Linked DNA regions of Homo sapiens: regions 1, 2 and 4 are each linked to region 3. The links are contacts of gene promoters, found by promoter capture Hi-C in blood cells and fetal thymus (Javierre and others, 2016). All regions are on one chromosome and are shown on one strand. The core of a region is centred on a gene start or on the middle of the fragment in contact, and the rest is flanking DNA. Distances in the headings are between cores, read along the strand shown. Region 1 holds the start of HSPG2 (heparan sulfate proteoglycan 2). Region 2 holds the start of CDC42 (cell division cycle 42). Region 3 holds the start of RAP1GAP (RAP1 GTPase activating protein). Region 4 holds the start of ECE1-AS1 (ECE1 antisense RNA 1).

What was found. Contacts are between HindIII fragments. The CHiCAGO score rates a contact against its expected background, and 5 or more counts as called.
Region 1: the fragment with the promoter of HSPG2 here is called in contact with the fragment with the promoter of RAP1GAP in region 3 in 1 of 17 cell types (megakaryocytes); the score reaches 5.0 in megakaryocytes.
Region 2: the fragment with the promoter of CDC42 here is called in contact with the fragment with the promoter of RAP1GAP in region 3 in 4 of 17 cell types (megakaryocytes, M0 macrophages, non-activated CD4 T cells and 1 more); the score reaches 8.2 in megakaryocytes.
Region 4: the fragment with the promoter of ECE1-AS1 here is called in contact with the fragment with the promoter of RAP1GAP in region 3 in 3 of 17 cell types (M0 macrophages, fetal thymus and M1 macrophages); the score reaches 6.5 in M0 macrophages.

What each region holds. Positions count from the first base shown.
Region 1 is chr1:21,935,624-21,938,651 of GRCh38, reverse strand. HSPG2 (heparan sulfate proteoglycan 2) reads left to right here and starts at 1,342. Exons shown (of 97, transcript NM_005529.7): 1 at 1,342-1,497. The coding sequence starts at 1,435. RefSeq lists a silencer at 954-1,303 and an enhancer at 2,051-2,892. The HindIII fragment of the contact is 13,080 bases long and covers 1-2,011 here.
Region 2 is chr1:22,051,070-22,054,173 of GRCh38, reverse strand. CDC42 (cell division cycle 42) reads right to left here and starts at 1,465. Exons shown (of 6, transcript NM_001791.4): 1 at 1,432-1,465. RefSeq lists enhancers at 1-476, 477-1,044 and silencers at 757-936, 947-1,166, 1,227-1,376. The HindIII fragment of the contact is 1,393 bases long and covers 683-2,075 here.
Region 3 is chr1:21,667,728-21,670,924 of GRCh38, reverse strand. RAP1GAP (RAP1 GTPase activating protein) reads left to right here and starts at 1,568. Exons shown (of 25, transcript NM_002885.4): 1 at 1,568-1,671. RefSeq lists an enhancer at 1-848 and a silencer at 1,497-1,646. The HindIII fragment of the contact is 8,301 bases long and covers 27-3,197 here.
Region 4 is chr1:21,292,012-21,294,986 of GRCh38, reverse strand. ECE1-AS1 (ECE1 antisense RNA 1) reads right to left here and starts at 1,697. Exons shown (of 3, transcript NR_038404.1): 1 at 1,244-1,697; 2 at 777-1,053. It also overlaps a transcript of ECE1 not described here. RefSeq lists enhancers at 121-280, 1-819, 1,661-1,750. The HindIII fragment of the contact is 8,029 bases long and covers 1-1,863 here.

The sequences.
Region 1 (3,028 bases), core at 93-2,592, 270 kb before region 3:
GATTTTACCACCCACCCGAGCATCTGTGATGGGGCTTTGGCAGGGTCTGTCTGTCTGGGCCTGAGTGTGTGAGTTGGTGTGGTTCTGGCTCTGGGGCTGTGATTTATGTGACTCAAAGTTGGTGTGTGAGTGATTTACATGGAAAATGGTGCAGGTGGGGTGGGCAGCTCAGTTCAGTACCCAGTGCCCACTATGAGGCACTGTGATTAGTGGGTGAGAACAGGTAAAAGATACAGGCTGAGGCTGGGTGCGGTGGCTCAATGCCTGTAATCCCATCACTTTGGGAGGGCAAGGCGGGCAGATCACAAGGTCAGGAGTTCGAGACCAGCCTGGCCAACATGGTAAAAACCCCATCTCTATTAAAAATACAAAAATTAGCCAGGCGTGGTGGCACGCCTGTAATCCCAGCTATTCAGGAGGCTGAGGCCGGAGAATTGCTTGAACCCGGAGGCGGAGGTTGCAGTGAGCCAAGATCCCACCACCGCACTCCAGCCTGGGGACAGAGCGAGACTCCTTCTCAAAAAAAAAAAAAAAAAAAAAAACAAGCTGGTAAGCATGTAGGCAATGATGTGGGCCTGTGTGTGAAATGTGCGTGCCTGCGAGGAATCTATGTGAAAAGGCGTCCTCCCGCTCCGTGACTTGTTGGGATGTATGCGTGAGTGAGGGGCTGAGTGTGGTGTGAGGGCTGTCTCCTGTGTCCCTGGTGGAGGTGAGAGTTTGGAAGCGAGTTAAGTGTGCATGTGAGCCGGTGAGGATTGTTGGTACTTCAGAGTTGGGTCCAGAGTGTGAAAGTGTTCCCGGGTAGCGCACAAGTGTGTTCGTGCAGTAAAGTTATGGTGTGAAGGTGTTCTTGGGTGTGGAAGTTGGCGTGCACGTGTGGCGCGGAGCGGCAGCTGCGTGCGTGTGAGCGTGGGAAGGAGATCCCGGGATCTTCAAAAGCTGCGCGAGTGGAGTCGGCCGTGCGGGGCGTGCAGGGGCGTGGAAGTCGGCGGCGCGCGCGGGGAAGCGGGGGAGCCGGGGATCGGGGAGGCGAGAGCGCCTGGCCCGGCGGCCCCATCCCATGCCCGGGCCCGGGCCCCCGGTCCCCCGCCCCGTCCCATCCCATACTCCAGGCCGGGTTTGGCGGGGAGCCGGGCCGGGCCGCGGCCCGCGCGGAGGGGGCTGGGGGCCCAGACAAAGGCCTAGTAGGCTGCGCGGCCGGCTGGGGCGAGCAGAGCCCGCGGCCCGGGGGCGGTCCGTGGGCGGGGCCTGGCGCTCCGGGGAGGGGCGGTTCGGGGGCGGGGCCGGCGCTGCGGGGGCGGGGCGGGCGGGGAGGAAAGGGGGCGGTGGGGAGAGGGCCGCGCTGTCCCGAGCTGGCCGGCGAGCGGGCGGCTGCGGGCGGCGCGGAGCGGGCGGCGCGGAGCGAGCGAGCGAGAGAGCGGCGCGGGCCGGGCCATGGGGTGGCGGGCGGCGGGCGCGCTGCTGCTGGCGCTGCTGCTGCACGGGCGGCTGCTGGCGGTGAGTGTGCGGGGCAGAGGGGCGGGGGGCGGGGGCGGAGGGGCTAGGGGCGCCCCGGTCCCGCTCGCCGCCTCCCGCCAACTTGGCTGGGGCGCCCAAGGCTGCGCGGCGGGGACTCTGGCCCGGGACGGCGGCGCCCGCCGGGGACCCCGGGCCGGCGCCACCCTGCGGCATGGGGCTAATCCAGGGGGGCCACCAGTCAGGACCCTTCGTGGGGCTGGGGGCGGGGCTGGCCCGTGTGGGAGCCCGTGGGTCTCTCGGCCACGTTGCCGAGTGCTGGAGTCTCGCTGGGCATGGTCCGGCCTACCATTCCTGGGGACCAGGAGGGGAAACTTTGAGCAGGGTGGGAACTTGGCAGGACGAGGGAACCCTTCTGCGCCAGCTTGGCAGAACGGCCACTCAGTGGTGATGGGGACCCTATGAGTCTCGCTGAAACTTTACCACACCGTCTATCACCTTGGGGAGCTTGGACCCAGGTAGGCACAAGCAAAACTTTTGGGACAGAACTGAAGCTTGTGTGGAACACCCACGGGCCTTGGAGTCATACAGCCGAAGAGTTGAATCAATCCCTGCCTTTCACTGAGTAACTGTGTGACCTGGGGCACGCTAGTTAACCTCTCTGAGGCCAGCCCCACGTGGGTCAAGGGAACTCAAAATGCACGGCCTCAAAATGCATAGCTGCAGGGCGTTGCTGGACTGCGTGGAATGAGCTGCAAAGTGCGTGGTGCGGGGATGCAGTGCACCCTTGGGGGACCCGAGTTCCCCAGCTTTCCTCTTCCCAGGTCTCCAAGAGGCAGGGAGAGGCCTGCCCTTGCAGTCTAGTCCCCTACTCTGAGCTTAGGTGGAGGAAAAGGGAATTCTACGGTCAGGAATCCCGAGGCTTAGAAGGCACTTGGCCAGCAGAGGCCCTGAGGACCTGAGTGAACTTGAGGAGGACTGGGTGGGGTCGGTGGGCAGGGAGCTAGTGGCAGATGTGGGTGGGGGCACATCTGGGGAGCCGAGCCTACCGTGGGGAGCCACAGAGCCACCCCCACTCTCTCCGAGGTGCTCCTAGGCAGTCCCCATACCTGCCTCCCTGTTCTCTGAGCCAAGAGAGGGACTTTTCTAACCAGGCTGGTGTTTACCCAGGAACTGCCTGCCTGGCCTCACCTTCCTGGCTTCATCGCACCTCTACCCTCCTGAGTCACTCGTCAAGCCCCCACCCAGACCTGGCTCCTCACTGCTCTTGCCCCACCCACCCAGCACTTCTCCTCCCCCATCCCCACTCTGGGCAGCCTCCTCTGTCGTCCTCCTGTTTCAGCCTCTCACCCCAAAATATTCAGCAGGGCCATCCAGTAGCTCCCTAGTCTTGACCTGAACTTGCACTCCTGGCACTGACTTTTACTTTTCCCAACGCACCAACCTAGCACGTGGGATGTTTTCCGAGGCCCAACAGTCTTTCCTGACCTTCCCCCAGCTCTGCCCCCGATGAGGGGCTCCTCCATGCCCGGGTGCGGTAGGATGGCGGTGGGTGGAGTTGTTTGCTGTGTGC
Region 2 (3,104 bases), core at 216-2,715, 380 kb before region 3:
ATATTAAGTTTTTTGCTTAAAGATCGAAGTCTCGTTTTTAATAACAAAACTAAAATGTCTAGCATAGATCAGGCATAAACTGATCCTCTTTTCAACACAACTTCACCACAAAAAGTGCACTTGAATCAACCTAGGGAGATTCCCAGCATGCAGTAAGTCATAAAGGAGAATAAACAGTCTGGGAAAGTCATTTTGGACCGAAAAGTGTTCCCACAAATAAACCCACCTCATTCTAGTATAGTCAAAGGGACCTCTATTTAAAGTTAATGCCACGCAAGGGGCCGTGGACGGTGTTGTCTTACACTTTATTCCCTGACACAAACTAATCCTGGGATTTTAAACCTTCCTAGCTTTTAGGTGCACTGAAGGCGGTCATGAACACAAGTAACAAGCTTTCAAAACATCATCTGTGAATACGACGTGTTGGGAAGCAGGCAGGATAAGCCACTGGGTGACCGACTAAGGCTGCAAAATGCTGTTTGAATTTAAGTCCCTGACTTGTAGGAGTTAAGTCTCACTCCTTATACCGCGATGACGTAATCTTCCACACTACATTTATCTTGGACTTAAAGGGGAGGAAAAACAAACGAACAAAGAAAATTCCCCCCCGATAAGAGGAATTAACCAAGCAGCAGAACGACGGCTTCGGGAGGTAGTTAGGTAACTCCCCGAAAGGGAAGCTTCAGCTAAACCGGCAGGGAGCGGGCTGGAGGAGCGGATGGAAATGCTAGGAACTCGACCTCCGAAAGGAAGAGCAGCCTGGAGGCCGTGGCTCGGGGCCACCCCGCCCAGAGGACGCGGCCGGCGCGGAGGGGAGCTCGGACAGGCACCGCCGCGAGCAGCCAGCGAGCTGCCCTCCTGCCACCGCCCCGCCGCGGCCGCAACGCCACTCCCCTCCCCCGCCCCCCCACCCCCGCCGCAAAATGTCCGCGGCGGCGCCCGGCGAAGCAGGAAGTCCAGGCCGGAGCGCAGGGCACGGAACGCAGCCTGCCAGCACGGAAGACCGGCGCCCGGCCCGGCCCAAGCGCCCGCGAGTCGCTCTGAGGCCCCCGGCCGCCCTTAGGAGCCCGCCGGGCCGGGCTGGGGGGAGGGGAGCCCGGGCGCCCAGGATGGGTGTGACCCCCTTCCTTCCGCCGCTGCCGGTGACAGCCCGGTCCCGCTCGCGCCCCGAGCCCCGGCCGCGCGCCCCTCCTCAGACGGGCGCCCCCTGCCTCCCCGGCCGCGACCCCCGCCCCGGCTCCCCCACAGAACGCGGACCCGCGCCCGCCCGGAGGACGCAGCGCGAGCCGGGCACTCCCCCACAACCCGTGCTCCCGGGCCCCCCACGATCCCGCAGACGGGGTGTCCCCGAGGACTGGGAGAGGACGGAGACGGCGGGGATGGGAAGGTAGGGTGGCAGCTCCCGCGGGGAACCTCGGGCCCCGCACTCACCTCAGCTTCTCCACCGGGGCGTTGGCAGCACTGCGCGGGGTCTCCTCGGCTGCCGGACAGGGGCACGCACCTGACGTCAGCGCGCAGGAGACGCACAGTTGGGTGCCCGCGGAAGTGGGAGGAACAGGGAAGGGGAAGAGGCTGGGGCGGGTCAAGGCGGTGCCTGGACTGCCCTGGCTCCGCCCGCCTGTCGCGCACGCGCGGGCCGGCGCAGCTCGTGAGTTCGGGGCTATGCTCTGCATGTTTTCCTAATGGTTGTATTTGTAATAATACTGTGAACGATAGTATGCAAAGCGCTTCCTCTACCAGTTCTTTTTTGTTTGTTTTTTCTGAGACAGTCTTGATCTGTTGCCCAGACTGGAGTGCAGCGCGCGATCTCAGCTCACTGCAACCTCCACCCCTTGGGTTCAAGCGATCCTCCTGCCTCTGCCTCCCGAGTAGCTGGGATCACTGGCACCTGCCACCACGCCAGGCTAATGTTTGTATTTTTAGCAGACACGGGGTTTCACCATTTTGCCCAGGCTGGTCTCGAACCCGTGACCTCAAGTAAGTGATCCACCTGCCTCGACCTCCCAAAGTGCTGGGATTACGGGCGTGAACCACCGCGCCCGGCCCACTACCAGTTCTTTTGATCCTTGCAAGCTTGTGAAGCAAGGTATTGTCCCATTTTGCAGAGAAGACGGAAGCTTCTCTGAAAGGGCTGGTGACTTGCCCCAGATCACAGGGGTGGATGGTCTCTCACTCCCCGGGCCTGTATTCAGTCCGCCGTGATGTGAGAACTGAGTATCACTCTTCTTATCTCTACCTACACCCAGTGTCCCTCGCTGTAGCCACATGGGTCTTTTTTAGAGTTACAACCTTCCCCCAACCACAGGCCTTGTGTTTTTGTTGTTGTTGTTGTTGTTGTTGTTGTTGTTTTTTCTTTGAGACGTTCTTGCTCTGTCACCCAGGCAGGAGTGCAGTGGCACGATCTCAGCTCACTGCAATCTCGACGTCCCGGCGATTCTCCCACCTCAGCCTCCCAAGTAGCTGGGACCACAGGCGCATGCCACCATGCCTGGCTAATTTTTGTATTTTTTTGTAGACACAGGGTTTTGCTGGATTGCCCAGGCTGGTCTCGAACTCCTGGACACAAGCTATCAGCCTGCCTCAGCCTCCCAAACTGCTGGGATTACAAGGTGTGAGACATTACGTCTGGCCAAGGCCTTGAATTTCTTTGCTCTGCCTCCCTCCTCTTCCCCCAAATTTATATCACTGCATTCTTCAATCATCCTATCTTCGCAGTATCTATTATTTGTCTTCTCTGCTAGTATGAAAGCTTCAGGAAAATAGAGAACTTCCCTCTCTTATTCTTAGATGTTTCCCCATGTTAGAGAAAAATCGCTTAAATTGCTTATCCTAGGCCGGGCACGGTGGCTCATGCCTGTAATCGCAGCACTTTGGGAGGCCAAGGCGGGCGGATCACGAGGTCAGGAGATCGAGACCATCCTGGCTAACACGGTGAAACCCCGCCTCTACTAAAAATACAAAAAAATTAGCCGGGCGTGGTGGCGAGCTCCTGTAGTCATAGCTACTCGAGAGGCTGAGGCAGGAGAATGGCGTGAACCCGGGAGGCGGAGCTTGCAGTGAGCCAAGATCGCGCCACTGCACTCCAGCCTGGGCAACAGAGCGAG
Region 3 (3,197 bases), core at 319-2,818:
CTTTCCCATATACAGCTAGGGAAGCTTGCTGGAGGGAGGACTGAAAAGAACAAGTGCCTGATCTACCTTCCCCTCTGCCCTTTCACAGGTGGGTGGATGCGTGGGAAGAGGGTGGGGCATTTCCTGCTATTCCCCCTTATTCACCTTTTCTCCACGGGGATTAGAGTCTTGACCGGAAAACATGGCTCTGGTCCCCAGCCCCTATGGGACTGAAAACCCGGAGGCTTGCATGTCTCAGATCCTCCAGAGGCTGATGTAAGAGTTGCTGAAGACCTCGGATCTTTCCTTTTGTGAAATGCAGCCCATGTGGCCGGGAAAATAGTGGGAGCTGGAAGTAACAGTTGTGGTTTTAAGCACACAGTAGATGCTCAAGAAATATATTGAGTACATGTCTTGGACTTTCCCCTCCCTAAATATTATCTGTCAAGTGGGCCTATTGGACTTGTTGACCTTGGAGGGCCCTGTCGGCTTGACCCACCAATTCGAAATGGTTGAGAAAGAGGTCTGTCTTTGTACCTTTTGCAGCCTGTTTTCCCAGTTCTTAGAACATTGGGGTGAGATCCAGAGATTTCAGAGATCCCCCTGGAACACGAGTGTTCTGTGACGAGTTCATGACCTTGGAGCCACCAACCATACCCCTCACCCGTTGTCCCCAGTTCTGGCCTTGCCGACCCACTGCGTGTTTCTTTGCTTCATGTGGGCTGTTCCCCGGGGAGGGAGCTCAGTGGAGAACAGAAAGAGGTGTGGGTGAGGGCTCCCCCTTGGTGGGGAGTGGGGCACAGGAGCCTCAGGCTCTGTTGACCATCAAAGAAGGGACTCGAGTGGGCAGGCCGCTCACTTGCTGTGGACCTTGGGCAAGTCTCTAACTCTCCCTGGGCCTTGGAAGTCAGGCCGAGGTGATCTCTGCCGCCCCCTCCCTGCCTGGGTTTTCACTCTTGTTCTGATCCCACTCTCTTCCGGGTGCCTCCCTTCCACTTCTCCGTAGCCTGTGGCTCCCCTCCCCACACCCGCCCTGGGCCCGGGTTAGGCTGGGGCGGGGGCGAGCTGCCCAGTCCAGAGACAAAGTCCAAGAGCCGCGAATGGGCTGGCGAGGGTCAACCGCGTGGCCTCTGCCAGGAAGCGCGCCGAGCGCCCGGGTGAGGAGGGCGTCAGCCAGGGCACAGCAGCTTTCTCGCCCAGCGAAGCCTGTGCGCCTTCCTCCCGCGCCTGCAGACAAGCGGAGCCCATGGGGGCCGTGGGCCCCACCTATCCCGACGTCTCCACTTGATCCAGAAGTTGTCCCAGTCCCCTTGGAGCATGAGCTGTTGCCTGGACAGCTGGGCTGTCGCCCAGGTTCTGCCACTGTCTAGCTGTGTAACCTTGAGCCAGTCCCTGCCCCTCTCTGGTCCTCAGTTTCCCCACCTGTAAAATGGGGGCACCGAGAACCCTCCTCCAGGACCTGCGGCGGGGCGGGGCGGCAGGGCGGGGGCCTCCCCGCCGCTCCCGCGCCCGCGGCTTGGGCTCCGCAGTGAGTGGGGAGCGGCGCCGGGGAAGGAGCGCTCCGCGGTCATGTGACGTCCCCCTCCCCGAACTGCGGCGGCGGCGAGCGCCGGCCGCATCTGAGCAGAGCTGCAGCGGCGGCCGCGGGCACCAGAGTGCCGAGCCCAGGACGCCCCCGGCCCAGGCCCTTGGGTGAGTGCGCCCCGCCAGGGCTGCGGCCCTGGAAAGGGGAAGGGGACAGAGGTGTCCAGACTCCCGTCGGCTCGCAGCGAAGACCCCGCGCGGGCGGGCGGGGACGGAGGGTGGGGGCGAACGCGTGGGGGACCCGGGTCTCCAGGGGCGAGGGGTGGGCGCAGCTGGGCTCGCGCAGCCCGGTCTTGACAGCAGCTGGAGAAGTGGGGGGAGGCCTGGACTGAGCCGGCTGAACCCCCAGCCTGTTGGACTTGGTCCAGGCCGCGGCCAGGGGGCTTTGGTCCCACCCCCCTGGGTGGGTGGGGAGTCCAGTTTTCCGCCCACCTCGAGGTGGGGGCGCCTGGGGTTTAGAGGAGGGACTGTGGGAAGTGGGCGCGTTTCCTCCATCCCTGGGGAGGGGCCCAAGCCCTAGCGCCCCCCAGAGGGTGGCGCTCCTGTCCTCAGAGGAGGGAAGTGGGGGCCTCAGATCAAGGACCCTGAGCGGGGAGGGCGGTGATGTCCTTGCATCCCCAGAGACAGGACGCATTCCCCTGTCCCTGACCCCCGCGGCAGAGCGGGGCACACGCGTCACGAAGTTGGGCGCCCCCTCGTCGCCTCCCCTGGCTCGGCAGGATCTGAGGACTCGGTGGGAATTCACGGGGCGGTTTCCGTGCCCTGCAGGGTTTGGTGCCAGCTGCGGGGCGCCTGGGCTTGGGGAAGAAACCTTGTGTACGCACACCTGCACACACACACAGTCTCCGGAGGTGAGCGGCCCCCTCCCTACCATAACAGACCCCAGCCTGTGCATGCCCTCGGAGTCCTTGTTGGGGTCATAGCACAGGCCCGGTGGTGGGGTCAGGAAGAACATCCACTGTTCTCAGGGCTCATTGGCCTCTGTCCCCGGGCTCCATTCCCCTCCCTGCCAAGTCAGAGGTCAGGCCCCTGGGGCGGCAGGCAGGAAGGACACTGAGGGAAGGGGCACTGAGGCAGGAGGGGCACTGAGGGAAGCTGGCCAGGTGGAAGTAGGAGAGAAAGGCAATGGGGGTGAGATGGTACCACTTCCTCCCCATATGAGGCTCTCAGGAGGCTCCTGGCCCCCCCTGCACAGGTAGTGGTCCCTCCTTCCTGAGGGTGTTTGGGGGAAAACGCTATGGTTGGGGCACTGGGGAAGGTTGCCTCGCAGATGAAACAGAACATTGGCCAAAGGTGTCCCTGAATGGGCTTCTGGACTGGCACAGGGCCCTGAGGGCTGTGGCTGAGTGGGGAGGCAGTGATCAGGTCCAGCTGGCCATGGGGGCCCCCCATTCCCTTCTCCATGACCTCAGCCTCACTCTGAGAGCCCCCAGCAGCTGGAAGGTCTGGTAAGGGGTGCGTGTTCCTTGATGGCCTTGGGAAGGGTTCCAGGGTAATGATTAATCCTCAGGTGGCACGAGCAATTTCCCCCTTCACAGCAATATTTCAGGGCAGGCGCTGAAGCCTCCATTGCACAGGTGAGGAAACTGAGGCTCGGAGAGGCTAAATGAACTGCCTGAGGTCACCTAGTCACC
Region 4 (2,975 bases), core at 448-2,947, 380 kb after region 3:
ATGAGTGTGTTTTAGATGACATGTAAAGATTGAACAGATCCCAGCCAATTACCAGCACCAAAAGTAGTAACTGATGGGGACTTCGGCCACAAAGGGCAGCGTCTCTAAGGAGCTGAGGCTTAGAGACAATGTGAAAGTAGCTGTGGAGGGTGTGGCTCAGTCCCAGGCCTCAGAATTTCACATGTGGGGCTTCCCTTTTCCACCTCATCACCCCAAGATGACTTAACAATCCCCCGCCTTTGGCCAACCAAACGCAAGAGCCATATGAGTGACTAATGTCGTCTGGGCAAAGGGGGTCATGCCCAGGTGCTACCAGGCCAGGAGGCTTTTGTCGCCAGAAACCTGTGCGTGTTTATATTTCTCGTTTCTGCTCACCACAGGCCTTTGATTTACAAGGGTGGAGTTTCCAGAGCTGGGCACTGTTGCACCTTCATCTGGCTGTCATCACTTCCTCTGTGCAGCTGGGGCACCGGGGACTGAGGACGGGGCAGTCCACAGGGAGCTGTGGTTCCACCCCTTCACTCTTGGTTTCTGCCAGGCCCTCCTCTTGAACACTAGACCCAGATTCAACCCAGATTTCTCCTCCACGGCTGCACAGTGCCAGGAAGGGAACTGAGAAGACCAAAGTGGAGGTTCTTTACCTTCCCCAACACACTCGGGGCCAGGCGTGGCACCCACAACTGCAAATGAGACAATTAGGGAGAATAAGTGCTGGCTGCCCTGTCAGCCCAGAGCCTCAGTCTGCCCAGGGCACCCAGACTCTGTGAGGTTCCCACCTGAAGAAGCAGTTCCATCTTCCACAAGGAGCACAGGACCAAGAGTCCAGGACCCAGGTTCGAGGCCCAGCTCTACCACTTTCTCGCCGCGGGGCTCGGGTTCTCTGGAGGCAGCGTAATGGAGTCAGTGGGTTTGGCAAGGGGAAGATTCGCATTATGGCTCCCTCAGTCTCCAGGCAGGTGACTCAGGGCTGGGGGGAGGTCCTTTCTCCTCTCTGACCCTTGGTCATCTCATTTGTAAAGCGGAGGTGATGATTCTCATCTCAGGGACGAGGCACTGTGGGGTTAGGAGAGAATTTGTCAAGTGGCATGGTTGGTTTTTGGTCTGTCTAGGCCCCTCCCCCTCTCTGTAAGCTGGAAGCGGTACTTGTGAGGCTGAGGCTCTAGGTGGGTGTGGGGAGCCATTGGGGTAGTGAATGGAAGGCCCTGGGCGAAGGGCCCCAGGCAGCTGTTGAAATGTCACTCACCCACTGTGGACTTCCCACCAAGCAGAGCCCGCCAAGCCTTTCCCGTCTGAGGTGGGTTCAGTTTCACTACCGGGCTGAGGCAGGCATCTCAGGAAGGGGCCCTCGGCTTTTGTGTGCTGAAAAATAACCAGGCTCCATCTCTGCTGATTTCTGCTTGGGAGTTCCGTGAGCTTCCTGCATCATCTGTCCACAGACAGGCTGCCGCAGGGTGGACATCAGAGTCCCTGGGGTGGCTTCCGGCCTCCCTCCCTTGCCTCCCGCCTTTGCTCAAACATCTGTAGAGGCTCCAGCCCCAGACTAAGCCCTTAAGGAGACAGGGTCCCGTGAGACCCAGCCTCTGCCATCAGGGTTCTCCTGTCTAAAATGCTGTGTGCCTCAGTAAAAGGCAGCATGGGGTAGGGTGGCTGTGTGGGGACACAGAGCCAGGGACCAAATGCTGTCTGGGGTCCCTGGAGGGTGGTCAGGAGAGCTTGCCAGAAGGGGGAAATCTCTGAAATGAGACAGAAGGAGGAGGAGCCATCGCTTAACCACACCTGGGCGAGTTAACTTCCCCAAGCCTCAGTTTCATTCTCTGTAAAAGGAACCAGTGATACCTGCTTCTGAGGGAAGGGTGAGAAGCTTAAAAGAGATGGTATAAAAGAACTGACAAATCCCGTACACCAGCCGGGTGAATCCCTTACACCACCCACATGCCCCGGGGAGATGTTCTGTGAACTGAACTTCTTTTTCAAAAGTCTTTTCCTCTGGCAATCGACACCTGGTAACGTAGTGTAACCAAGTGTCCTGTTCTAGAAAAAGCCCAGCTGCAACCCAGCAGTAAGTGAAGCAGCCTCAGAGTCCCCTCTCTCTCTGGGATGGGTAATGGAAACTCCTCCACCCAGTGGGAGTGAGGCAGAAGTCTCCAGAATTCAGAGCTTTCCCATGCACCCTGCCTCCCCAGGGCCTGTGACCTTTAGATGTGTTCCCTGTTTCTGTAGGCATTATGAAGTTAGATGCAGGAGAGTTCTTGAGAACTTGAAGGCACTTCCCCTCTACTTGTCCCCCCTTTGATTTTAACAACCGTTTGTTGAGCACCTACTCTGTGCCGGGTGATGGAGAGTCTCTGTTGGACAGGCCAGACAAGGTCCCAGCCCCAGTAAAGCTGTGGATTCTGGAGAGGGACAGAGACAGTGATGATAAAGACATGGAAACAAAACAGTCTGCAACAAGTACTGTAAAGGAAAACAAACAGGATGCTGTAACAGAGAATTTGGGGGACTGCTTAGGGTTCCTGGGACATTTGAGGAGCTGGTAGGCTGAGATCTGAAGTTGGAGCTGACCATGGGAAGAGTAGAGAGGAGGAAAAAATGTTCCAGATAGAGACAACAGCAGCTACAAAGGTCTTGGGGGAAGAAGAAACTTGTAGAAACTGAGGAGTTGTGTGAGGAGGTTGGTGGGGGAGGGGGCGCTGGCAGCACAAGATGAGGGCCCAGAGTGGGCAGGGGCCATGGGGCCTGGTGAAGGGTTTGGATTTCATTCCAGGACAGTGGAGGGTTTTTAAGCAAGGGAGTGGTAATATCAGAATTTTTTTTTATTTTATTTATTTACTCAGACAAGATCTTGTTGTGTCGTCCACGCTGGAGTGCAGTGGTGCAATCACAGCTCACTGTAGCCGCCACCTCCTGGCTTCAAGCGATTCTCCCACCTAAGCCTCCCAAGTAGCTGGGACTACAGGCGCATACCACCACGTCCT